2 separate regions of the Homo sapiens genome follow, and region 2 is linked to region 1. Evidence: promoter capture Hi-C in human tissues and cell types (Jung and others, 2019). All regions are on one chromosome and are shown on one strand. Each heading gives the region's core, a stretch centred on a gene start or on the middle of the fragment in contact. The rest is flanking DNA. Distances are from core to core; before and after follow the strand shown.

Region 1 (4,032 bases), core at 1,029-3,528:
CCCAAAAATCAATACTCATGATGCTTTTGTGGTCATTCAGGGATATGTGCAGAATGGCAAAAAATTTGAGTCCCCCAACGTACACATTCCCAGCTGAAGTCAAACAAGGCAACGCTCTGCTTGTTTAAGCTCTTCTACTACTATAAACAAGCTTCCTTTTTGCAGTCTACTTAGTGTCACATTTTTCACATTTTTGTGCTTTTTGTTGGTGAGTTTGCTGTTTAAAATGGCTGCCAAGAATTACTAAAGTGCTGTCAAGTGTCCTAAGAGCAAGAGGCCTGCAATGTGCCTTACAAAGAAATTACTTGTGTCAGATAAGCTTGGTTCAGGCATGAGTTACAGGGCTTTCAGCCACAATTCAATGTTAATGAAACAATAATATATATTACATAAGGTGTCTTTTTTTTTTTTTGAGATGGAGTCTCACTCTGTCGCCAGGCTAGAGTACAGTAGTGCGATCTCGGCTCGCTGCAACCTCCGCCTTCTGGGTTCAAGTGATTCTCCTGCCTCAGACTCCCGAGTAGCTGGGATTACAGGCACCCACCACCACGTCCTGCTAATTTTTTGTATTTTTAGTAGAGATGAGGTTTCACTGTGTTGGCCAGGATGGTCTCAATCTCCTGACCTAGTGATCCGCCTGCCTCAGCCTCCCAAAGTGCTGGGATTACAGGCATGAGCCACCGCGCCTGGCCTATATACATGTTTAAAAAATAAAGACAGGGCCAGCACGGTGGCTCATGCCTGTAATCCCAGCACTTTGGGAGGCTGAGGCAGGCAGATCACCTGTGGTCAGGAGTTCAAGACTAGCCTGGCCAACACGGTGAAACCCTGTCTCTACTAAAAATACAAAAATTAGCCTGGAGTGGTGGTGCACACCTGTAGTCCCAGCTACTCAGGAGGCTAAGGCAGGAGGATCCCTTGAACCCAGAAGGTGGAGGTTGCAGAGAGCCGAGATCACACCACTATGCTCCAGCCTGGGGGACAGAGAGAGATTCCCTCTCAAACAAAACAAAAAAAATAAAAATAAAAATAAATAAATAAATAAAGTATGTAGAGTTTTATTTAATAATTAACCACACAGATTAAAAAATAGAAAGTAGCCAGCTTCCCAGAAGTCTTCTGTGTGCACCTTCTAATTACCATCTCTGTCATGTGTCTTCAGACAGAAGCACATATAAAAACAAGGTTATGTATTGATCAAATGATGAAAATGTGTGGTCAGAGGCTTGCATTTTCCCTAGGAGCAATGGCTCAGTATTTGCTAATCCGGTGTTCACAGTGACTTTACAGAACATAACTACCCCCAAGTAATGGGAATCAACTGTATTTTTATTACTTTGGTGTACAAAGAACTTTGAGCTCTCCATGGCTTGCCACAACAAAAGACTTCCTAGGCAAATTGTCTACTGCTTTGTTCCAAGTGGGGGCTCTACTTGAGGCTGTGGGACCAAGACAAAAGAAGCAGCCTCTATGTGGATTAGGCCCCTTCTCCTGGCAGAGAGAAAGCACAAAGGAGCTGGCAGAAACTCACAGTGCAAAACTCACTATGCATATGCTACATCTGCTCATACTCCAATAGGCAAAGCACAGCTGACAGCAAACCCAAAGTCAATGAGACAGAAATGTGTCTTCCTTCCACGGGCCGTTCTAAAATTGCAAGGTAATGGACAGGAGTGTCCTCTTAAAGGAAAGATGGAATGAATAGTTGTGAATAATAATATAACCCATCACTACTACTCCTGTTTTAATTTTTTGAAAATGTTTAGATACATATTATATGCTTGTTTAATTTAAAATATCAAACTTTACCTTGCTCAGGCTCTGCCCCTCCACACTGGGCCACTCAAAGATGCCCAACTTACCCTACTTGGGCTCCAACAGCCATATCAGGTTGCATTCGAGACCAGCCTGGCCAACATGGTGAAACCCCGTCTCTACTAAAAATGCAAAACTTAGCCGAGCGTGGTGGCGCACACCTGTAGTCCCAGCTACTAGGGAGGCTAAGGCAGGAGAATCGCTGGATGCATTGATGCCCTCTTCACCCTGCTTAGGCTCTGATTCCTGACACAAGACAGCTCTGTTCTGTGGAACCCCTCCTCACTATGCTTGGCCCAACTCCCCACAGCCGACCACTCTAACTTCTATGTATCCTCCTCATCTCCTTGGGCTCAGACCCTCCATGTCTGGCTACCCACCCCCATAGACACCCTCCTCACCCTCCTTCAGTTCGGACAGTCCACATCAGGCCTCTTCCCTATGGAGACAGCTTCCTCACTTTGCTCCAGCTCTAAGGCTCCTCCCTCATCTGCTCCCCTGCCTGGACACTCTGCTCACCCCACTCAGGCTCTCATTCTATGCCAGTCTGCCCCTCTAGCCCCAGGGGGATGCCTTTCTCAACATGGGCAGGCTGGTCTCCATGCTATGCTGCTTCTTGCCTCTTCACTGGGCATTCTCATCTACCCCTGGCTCCAGCACACCAGGCCAGCAGCCCTCCTACAGAGACACCCTCCTTGACCTGTTCCAGCTCTGATGCCCACACGGAGCCAGCCGTGGCTCCCTTCCCCTTGGGGCAAACGCCTACCTTGCTAAATGTGCCTATCTAATGGCTTTAGGACTGACTAGTTCAGTTAGTAAAGAAAAGGAGACAAAACAAGGAAGAGCTACTTTTCCTTTTTGTAAAAATATGTATTGTGAAAAACACCACAAAAATAAAAATATGCATGAAACATTAATGTTCAGTCTAACGAACTATTACGAAGTGACCACTCATTAAACTATCACTGAAATCAAGTAAAAAATTTCCAACACTTTCTGCTCCTTTTTCATTCTTTTCCAGTCACAACCCCTTCCTATGCTCTCAAAGGCAGCTAATGGTAGTGACTTTCTTTTTCATATTTTCAAGATCATATGTATTCCCCTAAATATGTTTTTGTTTTTGTCTGCTTCTGTTCTATATCAATGGAGTCACTTGGAATGTATTCTTTTGTGCCTGGCTTTTTGTGTTCAACATTATATTAATGAATTCCATCCACATTGTTTTGTGTAGCTGTATTTTGTCAATTTTCATTGCCATGCCATCTATTGTATGACTACACACATCTCTACTGAGTTGTTTATAGTTTGCAGCTGTTAAGAATAAAGCTGCTGTGTGTATACATAGCATGTATGTAATAACGTTCTGCACGTGTATCCCAGAACTTAAAGTATAATAAAAAACTAGGATTTTCTAAATAAAAATGTTATTTATATCAACATGTAATAAGTTTATTACGTTAAATGAATTAATAAATGTTTTTAAATGTCAAAAAAATTTTAAACAATTTACTCATGTAAAAAAAAGAATAAAGCTGCTATGAACACTCTGTGTGCATTTGCTGGAGCACGTGGGCAGGTGTTCTTGTAGGTTATACATTCAGCATAGGGAATGATGGGTTACAGGGTATGCATATCTTCAGCTTCTCAAGCTGATACCAAATTATTTCCCAAAGAGTTTGTACCAATTCACAGCCTTGCCATTGGTAGTTGAGAGTTCCTATTGTTCCATAACCATGCTGTATGTAGAACTGTCACAATCTTTTCATTTTTACCATCCTGCTACGAGTATGGAAATACATCACTGTGGACTTAATTTAAATTTCTTGACTACTAATGAGGTTGAGCACCTTTTTAGATCTTTATTAACCACTTGGCTATCCTCTCTTTGATTTTCTTTTCAAATGTTTTGCTCATTGTTCTCTGGGGTTTTCTGACTTTTTCTTGCTGATTTCTACTGGAGTCATGTCTTTCCTCAGTTATATGTATTATGAACATCTTCCAGGATCAAGGGTAATCTTCTAAAACCCTTATTGGCTTGTCTTTTACCTTTTGAATGAAAGTTTTTATCACGTGCCCTTCCTACCCCAAAGACAGAATCAGGAATCCTTTTTCTATGTTCCTTTCCTACAATACAATAACTCGCTACAATACAATACAGTAACTCCAATATCTGAAGTCTTTGTGGACCTCTGCTGTTGGTTGTTTTTCTTGATTTTT
Region 2 (4,032 bases), core at 997-3,496, 100 kb after region 1:
GAGGCTTCATCTAATGTAATATGTTTCTTTTTTCTTGCTACTTTGAGTATTCTTTCTGTCTTTGATTTTTGATAATTTTATTATTATATGCCTTGTGGATTTCCTGTTTGGGTTGAATTTCATTGGTGACTTCTGAGCTTCCTGCACCTGGATGCTGTCATCTTTCTCCAGATTTGGGAAATTTTCAGCCATTATTTCTTTAAATATGCTTTGTGGGCCCTTTCTCTCTTGTCTTCTCTAGGAATTCTAATTATGCAGAGGTTAATTTGCCTGATGATGTCCCATAGTTCTTGTAGACCTTCTTCATTCTTTTTTTTCTCTTTTTGTTCCTCTGATTGGTGATTTCAAATGTTCTGTCTTCAAGCTTGCTAATTCCTCTGTTTGCTCAAGTCTGCTGTTGAAGCTTTATAATGAGTTTTTCAGTTCAATTATTTTATTCTTTATTACTAGTATTTCTATTTCTATTGCTTGGTTTTTTTTTTCATTGTTTCTATAAATCTTCAATTCTTCTGGGACCATTCCTGGAGCTTTGTTGATTTCTTTTGATGGTATTGAATATTTCTGAGTTTTCACAAGCCTTGTATCTTTACATGGATGCCTGCATATTTGAGGCGACTGCCAACTCTTCCAGCTTTTGCAGGTGCTCTTTCATGGTGTTAGACCTTTACTTCTTAGTATTAGAACTTAAACACTGGCCTGTTGTTGCTTTACACTGTAGAGAGGGCTTAATAGTGAGCATCAGAACTAAAACATTGCACTGGACCTAACTCATTGCCCTGTCATTGTTTCCCAGTGTAAGGAAAACTTATAGTGAGCACCACAGCTTAAATGCCCTGGAACAATATTGCTGCCCTACTATTGTTTCTCAGTGTGGGAAAAACTTAGGTGGGTACTGAAAATCTTGACCTTTTAGTTGTTTCTGGGCCAGGGAAAAGCTTCACATGTGCACCTGGGCTTTGTGGATTTGGGCCTTCCCATAAATTTTGTCCCCTACAATACTCTGGCCCCCCCACCAGTCTCTTCAATATGGCATCCCCACTGATCAAAGCACTGAACAATCACCAAGATCCACATGCCAGTTGCTGCAATCAGTGACCTACTCTTTGTCCCCAATTCACCCCAGGTTTTTCAGCCCTCTTGGTTCTCTAGTGGGATGAAACTGGAGTGGACTTACCATTAAGATTCCTAGACAAGTGGGAAGATCAAATATCCACCTCCAATTCCTTCTTCTCATCTCAGCAACTGTGGGTCTAGGGAAGTTCTCTGTGAGTGGTATTATTATGGCCTGGGAGAGAGGGTGGAACAGGCTGAAATGACCATTTCTCTTACCTGTCACTGCTTCTCTCAATTCTATGAGCCCAGGGGGTTTCTCTGCTTCTCAAGTTCTGGTGTATTCAGGGTGGCATTCTTGTCTTTGAATAGTTTTTCATTTTATTTTTGTGTCAGGAAGTGATCCCAGGAGATCTATTCTGCCATCTTGCTGACATCACTTCCCAGTTTAGTCCTGAGGTATCAGGGATGGATTAAGAAGCACATGGCTTTCCCCATCCTGGGAAAATTCTCCAGGACAGGGCAAACCAGCTCTTGCACCAGAGACATATCCACAGAGTAGCCTTTCTTGTATTGTCACTCTCTGCAGCTCATATCCTTGTGCTGGGCTGTGAGGCAGGCACTAAGGACACTCTTTAGGTAACAGTGGAACGCAGAACAAAGAGAAGTCAAGCTAGCCTCAGAGAAGAGAAAATTTGTCTTAAGTTTTTGATATCACAATCTGCATCTTTTTATAATTTGTATCCCTTGACAAATTATTGTAGGTTTCATTGTTTTTAATAGCTTTGCCTTTTAATGTTATTAAAGATATAATTTATTTACCCACTGACATTACAGTATCAGAGTATTTTGGATTTCACAATGTATTTACTTTTATCAGTGAATGTTATACTTTCATATGTTTTCCAGTCACTAATTAGTGTCCTCTTCTTCAGCTTGAAGAACTCTCTTTAGCACTTCTTGTAAGGCAAGTCTAGTAGTAATAAACTCTCTCAGCTTCTGTTTGTCTGAGAAAGTCTTTATCACCCCTTCATTTTTGAAAGAAAAGATTTCTGGGTATAGTATTCTTGGTTGACAGGGTTGTTTTATTCAGGATTTTTAATATAACATCCCACCCCCTTCTGGCCTACAAAGTTTCTGCTGAGAAATCTGCTGATAATCTAAGGGAGGGTTCTCTTGTGTGTAGCAATTCACTATTTCCTCACTGTTTTTAAAACTTTCTCTGTCTTTTTGCATGTATGGCAGGGGGAGGGTGGTGAGTATTCTGGTTTCTTCCATCCTATGGTGAAGGTGAATGCCAGTATTTATCTCTCCCTCTCTCTGCACTAAGCTGGAGAGATAATCTGTGACAAATGCCTATACTTGTGTCCAAACTGCACCCTCTGATCCTGGTGAGATAGCTGCTTGATATGGTTAGAATCTGTGTCCCCATCCAAATCTCATGTCAAGTTGTAATCCCCAATGTTGGCGGTGGACCTGGTGAGAGGTGATTGGATCACGGGGGTAAATCCTTCATGAATGGTTTAACATCATCTCTTTGGTGCTGTTCTCATGATAGTGAGTGAGATGTGGTTGTTTAAAAGTATATAGTACATCCCTCACCCCGCTCCTCCTCCAGCCATGTGAAGATGCCTGCTCTGGCTTTGTCTTCTGCCATGAGTAAAAGCTCCTGAGGCCTCCTCAGAAGCAGATAGTGCCATGCTTCCTGTATAGCCCATAGAACCATGAGCCAATTAAACCTCTTTTCTTTATAAATTATGCAATCTTGAGTATTTATTTATAGCAATGAGAGAATGGACTAATACATGCTGAAAGTGGGCCCGTTGTATGCCCATGTCTTTGTTTTCTGTAGTCCCAGGCCGCTTAGGAATGCAAAGTCTCATTGGGAATGCAAAGCCCCATTAGTCCCCAGAGCTAGGTTGATAAGGAGACAGTCCCTTGGGTGGAAACTATAGAAGCTTAGGTACTCAGTACACGGACAAACTCCTTCCAGGAAGAATGGGTCGACTGGATTTATCACTGGGATGAGCCAAAGGAAAGGCTCAGAAAGTGCTCAGCTCAAGCTCAGGATGACAGGGAGCTACTTTCTCCCCTTAGGTCCTCAATGCAAATTCATTAAAAGCAAGGTCATCAAGTAGCCACCAATAGAGTAAGCAGGAAACCCCTTGCAAAGAGAAAATGGGAGCTCAGCATTCTAGTCCCTTTTCTACACTGCTCCCAGGAGATGTAGACCCTGGCAGTGTTATTATGTCCATTTAAAACCACCTTTTTGGCTGGGTGCAATGGCTCAGCCTGTAATCCCAGTACTTTGGGAGGCTGAAGTGGGTGGGTCACTTGAGGTCAGGAGTTCAAGACCAGCCTGGCCAACATGGTGAAACGCTGTCTCCACTAAAAATACAGAACATTAGCCAGATGTGGTGGTGCATGCCTGTAGTCCCAGCTACTTGGGAGGCTGAGACAGGAGAACCGCTTGAACCCGGGAGGTGGAGGTTGCAGTGAGCCAAGATTATGCCATTGCACTCCAGTCTGGGTGGCAGAGTGAGACTCTGTTTAAAAAACAAACAAACAAACAAAAAAACCTTTTTGTATGTGATCTGGGAAGACTTGAGTATGCATAGTTTCAGGTGGTAGCTGCTGTAAAAGTTGGGCCACTCAATGCATGGCATAAACCCCTTACAGGGAGTAACAGGGAGCTGCATTTTTAAGCCCCTTTTCTGTACCACTCCAAGAGTTTGAAACCCCCAGAAATACGTGTGCACCTGTATAAACCTACCACTCTTGTCTGTTGTCTAGAGAGATTCTCATATGCATAGTCCTCTCTGCTCCTAAAGCTGGGAGTTTTAGAGTGCAGTCCTTCCAGTAGAAGCTGCAAAAGTTGAGGCATTCTACATGTGGACAAACTCTCTCCAGGAAGGAGTAATAGACCTGGAGTTATCACTGGAGTGAGCCAGGGGAAAAGGCTTAGGAAGTGTTGATCTGCTT

What was found. Contacts are between HindIII fragments. The study calls those that stand out against the background at their distance.
Region 2: a fragment that was not itself captured here is called in contact with the fragment with the promoter of WFDC8 in region 1 in 6 of the 25 tissues and cell types used here (H1 embryonic stem cells, bladder, dorsolateral prefrontal cortex and 3 more).

Annotation. Positions count from the first base shown.
Region 1 is chr20:45,577,006-45,581,037 of GRCh38, forward strand. It overlaps WFDC8 (WAP four-disulfide core domain 8), which reads right to left and starts at 2,279. Exons shown (of 6, transcript NM_130896.3): 1 at 2,217-2,279. The coding sequence starts at 2,242. RefSeq lists an enhancer at 1,094-2,029. The HindIII fragment of the contact is 18,093 bases long and covers 1-4,032 here.
Region 2 is chr20:45,677,708-45,681,739 of GRCh38, forward strand. No RefSeq gene overlaps it. Among named protein-coding and RNA genes, the nearest start is that of WFDC11, 9.5 kb to the left of the region's middle. The HindIII fragment of the contact is 5,827 bases long and covers 1-4,032 here.